Regions from separate parts of the Homo sapiens genome. Here regions 1 and 2 are each linked to region 3. The links are contacts of gene promoters, found by promoter capture Hi-C in blood cells and fetal thymus (Javierre and others, 2016). All regions are on one chromosome and are shown on one strand. The core of a region is centred on a gene start or on the middle of the fragment in contact, and the rest is flanking DNA. Distances in the headings are between cores, read along the strand shown. Region 1 has its middle 5.8 kb from the start of HAUS5-DT. Region 2 overlaps ATP4A (ATPase H+/K+ transporting subunit alpha). Region 3 holds the start of HPN (hepsin).

Region 1 (2,700 bases), core at 150-2,649, 570 kb after region 3:
AAAAAAATTAGCCAGGCATGGTGATGGGTGCCTGTAATCCCAGCTACTCATGAGGCTGAGGCAGGAGAATTGCTTGAACCCTGGGAAAGAGAGGTTGCAGTGAGCTGAGATCGCACCACTACACTACAGCCTGGGTGACAGAGTAAGACTCCATCTCAAAAAAAAAAAAAAAAAAAAAAAAAAGTGAATATGGGATGTTACTACACATGTGCTGTACCTTCCCTTCATGAATATTCATAGCTCCTCCTATAACCTGTTGAATATGTATACTGAGCCAAGCCATTCAGCGTTAACTCTGACCTTATCCTTCCCTTACTGGAGGTGCCTGCTCTCAGCTTCTACCGGAGGCTACACTTCTCGGCCTGTGAGATGGCCCGGCTGCAGGCTGCAACTCTTTATGAGAAATAAAGCTCTCCTTTCCAAATTTGTAAACCTGTATTAGTCTGTTCTCACGCTGCTGAAAAGAACTGCCCAAGACTGGGTAATTTATAAAGGAAAGAGGTTTAATTGACTCACAGTTCCGCAGGGTTGGGGAGGCCTCAGGGAACTTAAAATCATGGTGGAAAAGAAAGCAAAAACGTCCTTCCTCAGATGGCAGCAGGAAGGAGAAGTGCCAAGCAAAGAGGGAAAAGCCCCTTATAAAACCATCAGATCTCGTGAGAACTCACTATCTCAAGAACAGCAGCATGGGGGTAACCACCCCCATGATTCGATTACCTCCCACTAGGTCCCTCCCACAACACATGGGGATTTGGGGAACTACAATTCAAGATGAGATTTGGGTGGGGACAGCCAAACCATATCAAAACCTCATGATTCTTCAGTTGACATCTAATCTGAGCTACCATGGTCTATCAAAAAACCACAGCTCTTGAGGGGATCTCAATGGCTGTTAACAAACTGGTTAGAGTTCTGGTCAGGTTCTGATTGTAGAGAGCCTCTGTAACAGATATGGATTGCCTCCTTCCCCCCACCCTCCTTGTTATTTTTATTTCATTTTATTAAATTTTTTTTTGAGACAGGGTCACACTATGTCACCCAGACTGGAATGCAGTGGCACAATCTCAGCTCACTGCAACTTCTGGCTCCCAGGTTCAAGTGATTCTCATGCCTCAGCCTCCTGAGTAGCTAGGACTACAGGTGCATGCCACCATGCCCAGCAAATTTTTATATTTTTTGTAGAGACAGGGTTTTGCCATGCTGCCCAGACTGGTCTCAAACTCCTGAGCTCAACCAATCTGTCTGCCTTGGCCTCCCAAAGTGCTGGGATTATAGGCGTGAGCCACTGTTCCCAGCCATGATTTTTATTTAACAAATACTCATTATTTAACAAATACTTTCTGAGCACCTACTGTGTCCCAGGCATTGTCTTGGGAACGAGGAACACAACGGAGCAAGAGAAGTAAGGCCAACTTCTTCTCTGATGGAGCTTACATTCTAGTGGGAAAGAAAACTATAAACAAGTATACCCAAAAATAAACAAGATAATTACAGGGAATGGTAAATGCTATAGAGAAAAATAAAACAGAATAAGAAGCTAAAGTGGTGCCAGGACTGGTCCAGCAACTATTATGGTGTTGGGAGCAAGCCCCCCAAAATATGGCCATAAACTGACCCCAAGACTGGCCACAAACAAAATCTCCACAGCACTGTGACATGTTCATAATGGCCCTAACGCCCAAGCTGGAAGGTTGTGGGTTTACGGGAATGAGGGCAAGGAACACCTGGCCCGCCCAGAGTGGAAAACCACTTAAAGGCATTCTTAAGCCACAAACAATAGCATGAGCGATGTGTGTCTTAAGGACGTGTTCCTGCTGCAGTTAACTAGCCCAACCTATTCCTTTAATTCGGCCCATCCCTTCGTTTCCCATAAGGGATACTTTTAATTTAATATCTATAGAAACAATGCTAATGACTGGTTTGCTGTTACTAAATATGTGGGTAAATCTCTGTTCGGGGCTCTCAGCTCTGAAGGCTGTGAGACCCCTGATTTCCCACTTCACACCTCTATATTTCTGTGTGTGTGTGTTTAATTCCTCTAGCACCAGTGGGTTAGGGTCTCCCCAACCGAGCTGGTGTCTGCAATGGTGTGCCACCAGATAAGTACGGAAATTGCCAGCAAGTGTTTAGAAACACAGCAATTTGACATATCCATGACATCCAAGTATAGGATCAATGGATTTTCTTGTTGAACAGGGTAGAGACCAAAAGGATTGGTCCATGACAGGTTGGAAACATCAAACAAATGATCCTTCTCCATAGTTACAAGTAGTTTGAGATACACTGAGCTAGTGGGCAATGATGTCTACAAGGTATATTATTTAGAGTCATGCTAGCTGCTATAACAAATAAACCCCACCATTTCAGTAGCTCACAAAATAAAAGTTCTTTTTTTTTTTTTTTTTGAGACGGAGTTTCACTTTTGTTGCCCAGGCTGGAGTGCAATGGCACGATCTCAGCTCACAACAACCTCTGCCCCCTGGGTTCAAGCGATTCTCCTGCCCCAGCCTCCCAAGTAGCTGAGATTACAGGCATGCACCACCACACCCGGCTGATTTTTTTGTATTTTTAGTAGAGACGGGGTTTCTCCATGTTGGTCAGGCTAGTCTCAAACTCCTAACCTCAGGTGATCCACCTGCCTCAGCCTCCCAAAGTGCTGGGATTACAGGCATGAGCCATCACGCCCAGCCAGAAGCTCAT
Region 2 (2,700 bases), core at 181-2,680, 510 kb after region 3:
TCACCTGCCTGCCACCCATGTGTCCTGCACTGGCTGTCATTGCACACACAGGTCTTGTCTGTCACTCTGTGCCCAAGAGTGTCTGTGGTGGTCTCTGTCCCTCCTGTCCATCTGCAAGCAAGTGTCTCTGGGCACCCTGTGGATGGGTACCCTGGGCTGTGGACTTACAATGTCAGTGCAGAGTTCGATGAAGAGGATGGTGATGCACCCGAGGGGCAGGGGCACGCTGACGGTGATGTAGATGAGGTAGGGTGTCAGCTCTGGGATGTTCTTGGTCAATGTGTAGGCAATAGACTTCTTCAGGTTGTCGAAGATCAGTCGACCTGTGGGGTAGGGTGGGCACCTCAGCCTCCTCACAGCCCTCTCCCTCCTGTGCCCACACTGCCTGCCCTCCCCCTGGCGTGGCTCGGACCCTGCTCCACGCCTGTCACAATGGAGGCAAAGTTGTCATCCAGCAGGATCATGTCAGCTGCATTTTTGGCAGCATCTGAGCCAGCGATGCCCATGGCTACTCCGATGTCTGCCTTCTTCAGAGCTGGGGAGTCATTCACACCATCCCCCGTGACGGCCACAATCGCACCCTGCAGGCAGTGGGTGCAGGTGGTGGGTGGGTGGTCAGTGAGAGGCCGGTCCAAGACCAGCCCCGCCTGTCTGCCCGCCTGCCCACCCTCATCAGCAGGGCTCACCAGCCGCTGGCAGCTCTCCACGATCACCAGCTTCTGCTGGGGGCTGGTGCGCGCAAACACCATCTCGGGGTGGGTGCGCAGGGCCTCGACCAGTTCCGATGGGTCCATGTCCTTCAGCTGCATGCCATTGATCACACAGGCACGGGCATCCCTGGGGAGGAGATGGGAGGACCTCGCTGGGACCTCGGTCTGTGCCAGATGTGGGGAGAACCCCGGGGAGGTCTGGGGGGGCTTACTTGCGATTAACCTGGTCTACGGGCACACGGAGGCGGGCAGCGATGTCCTCCACTGTCTCGCTGCCTTCCGAGATGATGCCCACACTGGCTGCAATGGCCTTGGCGGTGATGGGGTGGTCACCCGTTACCATGATCACCTGTAGGGGGAACCAGTGGATCACTGACCCCTTCAGATCAGCCCAATCTCCCTGTCCTCCCTGGGAGACATCTGCTGATACACGTGTTCATTTACTTGACCAAGCGTGACCACCTCCTACGTGCCTGGGATATAGCAGAGACAAAAGAGACAAAAATCCCTGTCCTTGAGGAGCTCTAGTGAGGGTGACAGAAAATAAAGAAACGAATTATATAGTGTGTTAGAAAGTGGAAAAAAACATATTAAGCTTGGTGAAGGAAACGGTGACTCGATTTTAAGTGTACCCAGGGAAGGGCTTATTGAGAAGGTGATATCTGAGCAGAGACCTGTAAGAGGTGAGAGAGTCAGCCACGTGGAAAGCTGGGAGAAGAGTGCTCCTGGCAGGGAGAACAGCAGGTGCAAAGGCCCTGAGGTGAGGACAGGCCCGAACTGTCGGAGGAACAGCAGGGAGGACACCATAACTGCAGAGGAGTGAACAAGGAAAGAGGGCTAACGAACAAGCTTAGAAAGGTAACAAGGCCCGATGTAACAGGGCCGTAGAGACACGGGAAGGGCTTGGGCATTGCCTGCCTGGCCTTGGCTTTCCCACCCTTGTTTTGTGTTTGGGGAACCACTCCTCTCCCCTACACCATCAGTTGCAGTGAGGTCCCTGGCTAAGATTGGGTAAGTAAGCCCAGACCTGGCCAATCAAGGTCTTCCATCCCCCAGCCCCAGTGACTGGCTCAGGGATAAATGAGTGACCCAATCCAGTGCTACTGCAAAAGAGGCACTCTCTTTTTGTGGGGTGGCTAAGCAGGTGGGAGTTAAGTTTGAGCTGCTGGAGCAGGGGTGTGTGTGTCCCCAAGTGAAGGGAGTGCCTGCAAATAAAGCCAGCAAAGAGAACAGCAGAGCTGAGACATGGAGAAAGGAAAATTCCTAATGACACTGAGCTCCTGGATCTGGCTAGACCTGAAGCTTAATTCCCCAGAATTTTTCAGTATCATAAACCAATGCATTTTGGTTCAAGCCAGTTTCAGGTGGGTTTGTCATGGGGTTCTTCAACCCAAATCCTGCTGCCATCCTCTGTCCTCACTCCACTTGTTCCTCCCCACAGTGGCATACCCGGATGCCTGCGGTGCGACACTTGAGCACAGCATCAGGGACGGTGGCCCGGGGTGGGTCAATCATGGATACAAGTCCCGCAAAGCAGAGGCCGCTAGATGGAAAGTTCATGGCCTCTACGTCGAAGGCATAGCCAGGCGGGTAGTCCTTCTCATTCAGGTAGAGCTGGCAGAAGCCTGACCGGAAACGGGGAAGTCAGGGAAGAGCCCTGGGCACACCCTTTCTTAGCAGGGCCAGGAAATGGGTAAAATAACCAGGCCCCTTGCACCAAACACCTATGGATGCCTGACCTTGTGCTGACCCCTTCACTCACATTATCTGAATCTACCCTCACAACCACCCTGTGAGGCCCATTCTCATCTTACAGATGAGGAAACTGAGGCTCAGAGAGGGGACATTTCTTGCCAGAGGTCACACAGCAAGTAAAAGGCCCAGAATTGGACCACAGATCTGCTTTCTAGGGTAGAGGCAGCGAAGTTTAAGGCGTCAGGACAAAAATTGGGAGAGGTTAGAGGTCAGGATACGGATAAAAGTCCAGGTG
Region 3 (2,700 bases), core at 1-2,500:
CCCGTCACCTTCCCCCCATTCCCGTCCCCGAATCTTCGAGCCCGCTTTCCAGGGACCCTACCTGAGGGCCCACAGGTGAAGCCACTTAGTGCCTGATCTGTGTCGGGGTTGGGGGAGCCATGGGCTCAGGGGTGAGGGAGAGTGGAACGGAGCCAGGAAGGGAGGGGGTGCCGTGGAGGGAAGAGAATCGAGGCTGATGCTGGGGTGCAGGGGTGGCATGGGGTGTGTGGTGTGCCCAGCAGTGTGAGTCTCTGGAGAGGTGGGCGCTGGGGAGAAGGAGAGGGAAGGAGAGACGGGTATGGATGGAAAGGCAGAGGAAGCCAGGCTAAACCAGCGTGTCCCAATGAGGGGCCCTGGGCTGAGTGGAGGAAATGGGTGCGGTGGAGGTGGGTTTGGCTGGGCACAGCGGGCACGTGTGGGTAAGCGGGTGGGGCCGGTTGTGCGGGTGGCCTATCTGGGGCAAGCAGCCGAGGCCGACTGTGTCCGGCGTGTGGTTGAGCACGGGCAGGTGTCTGGCGGTGACCCTGCACGTCTGGTGTTTACCTGGCCCTGGGTCTGACGTGGGCCGCGCCTGGCTGCTGGCGGGACAGTGTGTTATCTGCCTGCGGACGCTTCCGGCCACTTGGCCTGGGCCTCTGCCCTTAGCGCTGTGTTTTCCCGGCCAAGCCCCCCATCCCCCCTATCTAGTGCTAGGACTTTCTGGCTCCAGAGGTCACCGCGGCCGGGCGGAGGCTGCCAAAGCAAACCAGCCCCGTGACTTGTAGGAAGCCAGCGGGGGAGGGGCCGGGGCAGGATGAGCAGGGCAGGCGGGAGAGGCTGGGGCTGGGGTTGGGGCCCAGGAATTGGGCAGGGAATTAGGCAGAGGTGCAGCAAGTGGCGGGCACAGCCAGGACCTGGGGCTGGAGGACGCAGAAAGGGCGGGGGGAAGGGTTCGCTGGGTGAGGGTGGAGTGGGCTTAGGGCAGCTGGGGCCCTCCATCTGATCTCTTCTGGTCAGACCCCCACCCTTCAGCCTGCACTTTCTCCCTAAACCCCCAGCCTCCGGCCAGGCCTGTCCCTGTTCCCACATCCCCGCAGACAGGCACACCTGGGTCCCCCTGGAGGTCCAAGGCAAGCCCCGTAGCTGGGCCCGCCTGGTCCAGCCCCCACAAGCCCGGCCCCATCAGCCAGGTGGCCTCCAGTGCTGCCAATCGAATGGTCCGGCCCCTCCCCGCCCCTTCACCCGCCCCTCGCCCAGCCCCCTCCTCCTCAGGTGAGGCAGCCTGGCCTAGCAGGCCCCACGCCACCGCCTCTGCCTCCAGGCCGCCCGCTGCTGCGGGGCCACCATGCTCCTGCCCAGGCCTGGAGACTGACCCGACCCCGGCACTACCTCGAGGCTCCGCCCCCACCTGCTGGACCCCAGGGTAAGGACAAGGGCCCCCAGACTCACAGTTCCAGCCCTGAGGACAGGGGTTCCCTCATCCCCCCACCCAGCCTAATGCCCACCTCCTAATAGAGGGGTTCCTGGGGACCTGAAGAGGGGGCACTATGACGTCCCCCCAAGCACCTAGGTGTTCTGTCCTGCTCTTCCTTCAGACTCAGCCGTTGGACCCCAGTCCTTTCCTCCCCAGACCCAGGAGTTCCAGCCCTCAGGCCCCTCCTCCCTCATACTAGGGAGTCCTGGCCCCCAAATTCCTCCTTTCCCAAGACTTATGATTTCAGGTCCTCAGCTGTCTCCTCCCTCAAACCGGGATCCTCAGTCCCCTGCTCCACCAGGCTCAGGCATGGGGGTCCCCATCCCTGCAAATCCAGGCGTCCCCCCGCTGCTGGTCAGACACTGACCCCATCCTTGAACCCAGCCCAATCTGCGTCCGTGATCACGGCGTGCTCTGGCCAAGGCCCAGTCCCTACAGCCTGCCTGGATGGACGCCTGGGACTGGGGGCGCCAGGACTGGGCTGGGCTGGGCTCCCCCAGGCCCTGCCTCCCCGTCCATCTCCTCACAGGTCCCACCCTGGCCCAGGAGGTCAGCCAGGGAATCATTAACAAGAGGCAGTGACATGGCGCAGAAGGAGGGTGAGTCCCCTTCCCTGAGCCCCAGCTTTGGCTCTGCCTGGCGCCCCGCCCTCTGTGCTCTTTTCTCTACCCTCTACTCTTCGGAGCCCCCTCTCTCTGGGCACCCCTCCCAGATGCATCCCCACCCCTGTTAGTCCTCCTCCACCTGATTAACTATTAACCACATTTTCTGTGCAGCTGTGCCACCACCAGCCTCCCTTCTACCCTATGTGACCTTCCTGGCGTGCTGCCTCAGTTTCCCCTCATCCCCCAGTGATTTCTCAGCTAACTCTGGACTTGTCCTCTGCTGGGGCTGAGGCGGGGAAGCTGTAGCTGTCATGGTTAAGGACACAGATTTGGAGTGAAACACACAGGCTTGCATTTGAATTTGCTCTTGCCATCTTTTTTGCTGTGTGATCTGGTGCAAGTGACATTATTCTTAGGGCTTTGGTCTCCCTCTGGGTCAAGCATGGATACCAGTCCTCCCTCTGTGAGGTTGCTGAGTGCATGACACACACCAGGCACTGGTCTGGGGCTCTGCATATAAGACGCATGCCATCAAGCAGAGCTGTCATGACAGAGGTTGGCAAACTCGGAGTCCCAGAGACCCAGGACCCCCACCGATCCCAGACATTCCTCCACCTCCTGGCTCTGTGGGCAAAAGAGCAG

Evidence for each region. The method cuts DNA at HindIII sites, captures the fragments that hold promoters and counts their contacts. A CHiCAGO score of 5 or more calls a contact.
Region 1: a contact is called between a fragment that was not itself captured here and the fragment with the promoter of HPN in region 3, in 5 of 17 cell types (total B cells, activated CD4 T cells, naive B cells and 2 more). The highest score is 7.8, in total B cells.
Region 2: a fragment that was not itself captured here is called in contact with the fragment with the promoter of HPN in region 3 in 2 of 17 cell types (naive B cells and naive CD8 T cells); the score reaches 7.8 in naive B cells.

Annotation. Positions count from the first base shown.
Region 1 is chr19:35,605,542-35,608,241 of GRCh38, forward strand. No RefSeq gene overlaps it. Among named protein-coding and RNA genes, the nearest start is that of HAUS5-DT, 5.8 kb to the right of the region's middle. The HindIII fragment of the contact is 3,634 bases long and covers 1-2,700 here.
Region 2 is chr19:35,554,754-35,557,453 of GRCh38, forward strand. It overlaps ATP4A (ATPase H+/K+ transporting subunit alpha), which reads right to left. Exons shown (of 22, transcript NM_000704.3): 12 at 2,160-2,335; 13 at 923-1,059; 14 at 687-837; 15 at 413-581; 16 at 169-323. Among named protein-coding and RNA genes, the nearest start is that of ATP4A, 7.6 kb to the right of the region's middle. The HindIII fragment of the contact is 254 bases long and covers 1,304-1,557 here.
Region 3 is chr19:35,040,471-35,043,170 of GRCh38, forward strand. It overlaps HPN (hepsin), which reads left to right and starts at 1,251. Exons shown (of 13, transcript NM_001384133.1): 1 at 1,251-1,402; 2 at 1,983-2,052. The coding sequence starts at 2,037. RefSeq lists an enhancer at 1-722. The HindIII fragment of the contact is 15,827 bases long and covers 1-2,700 here.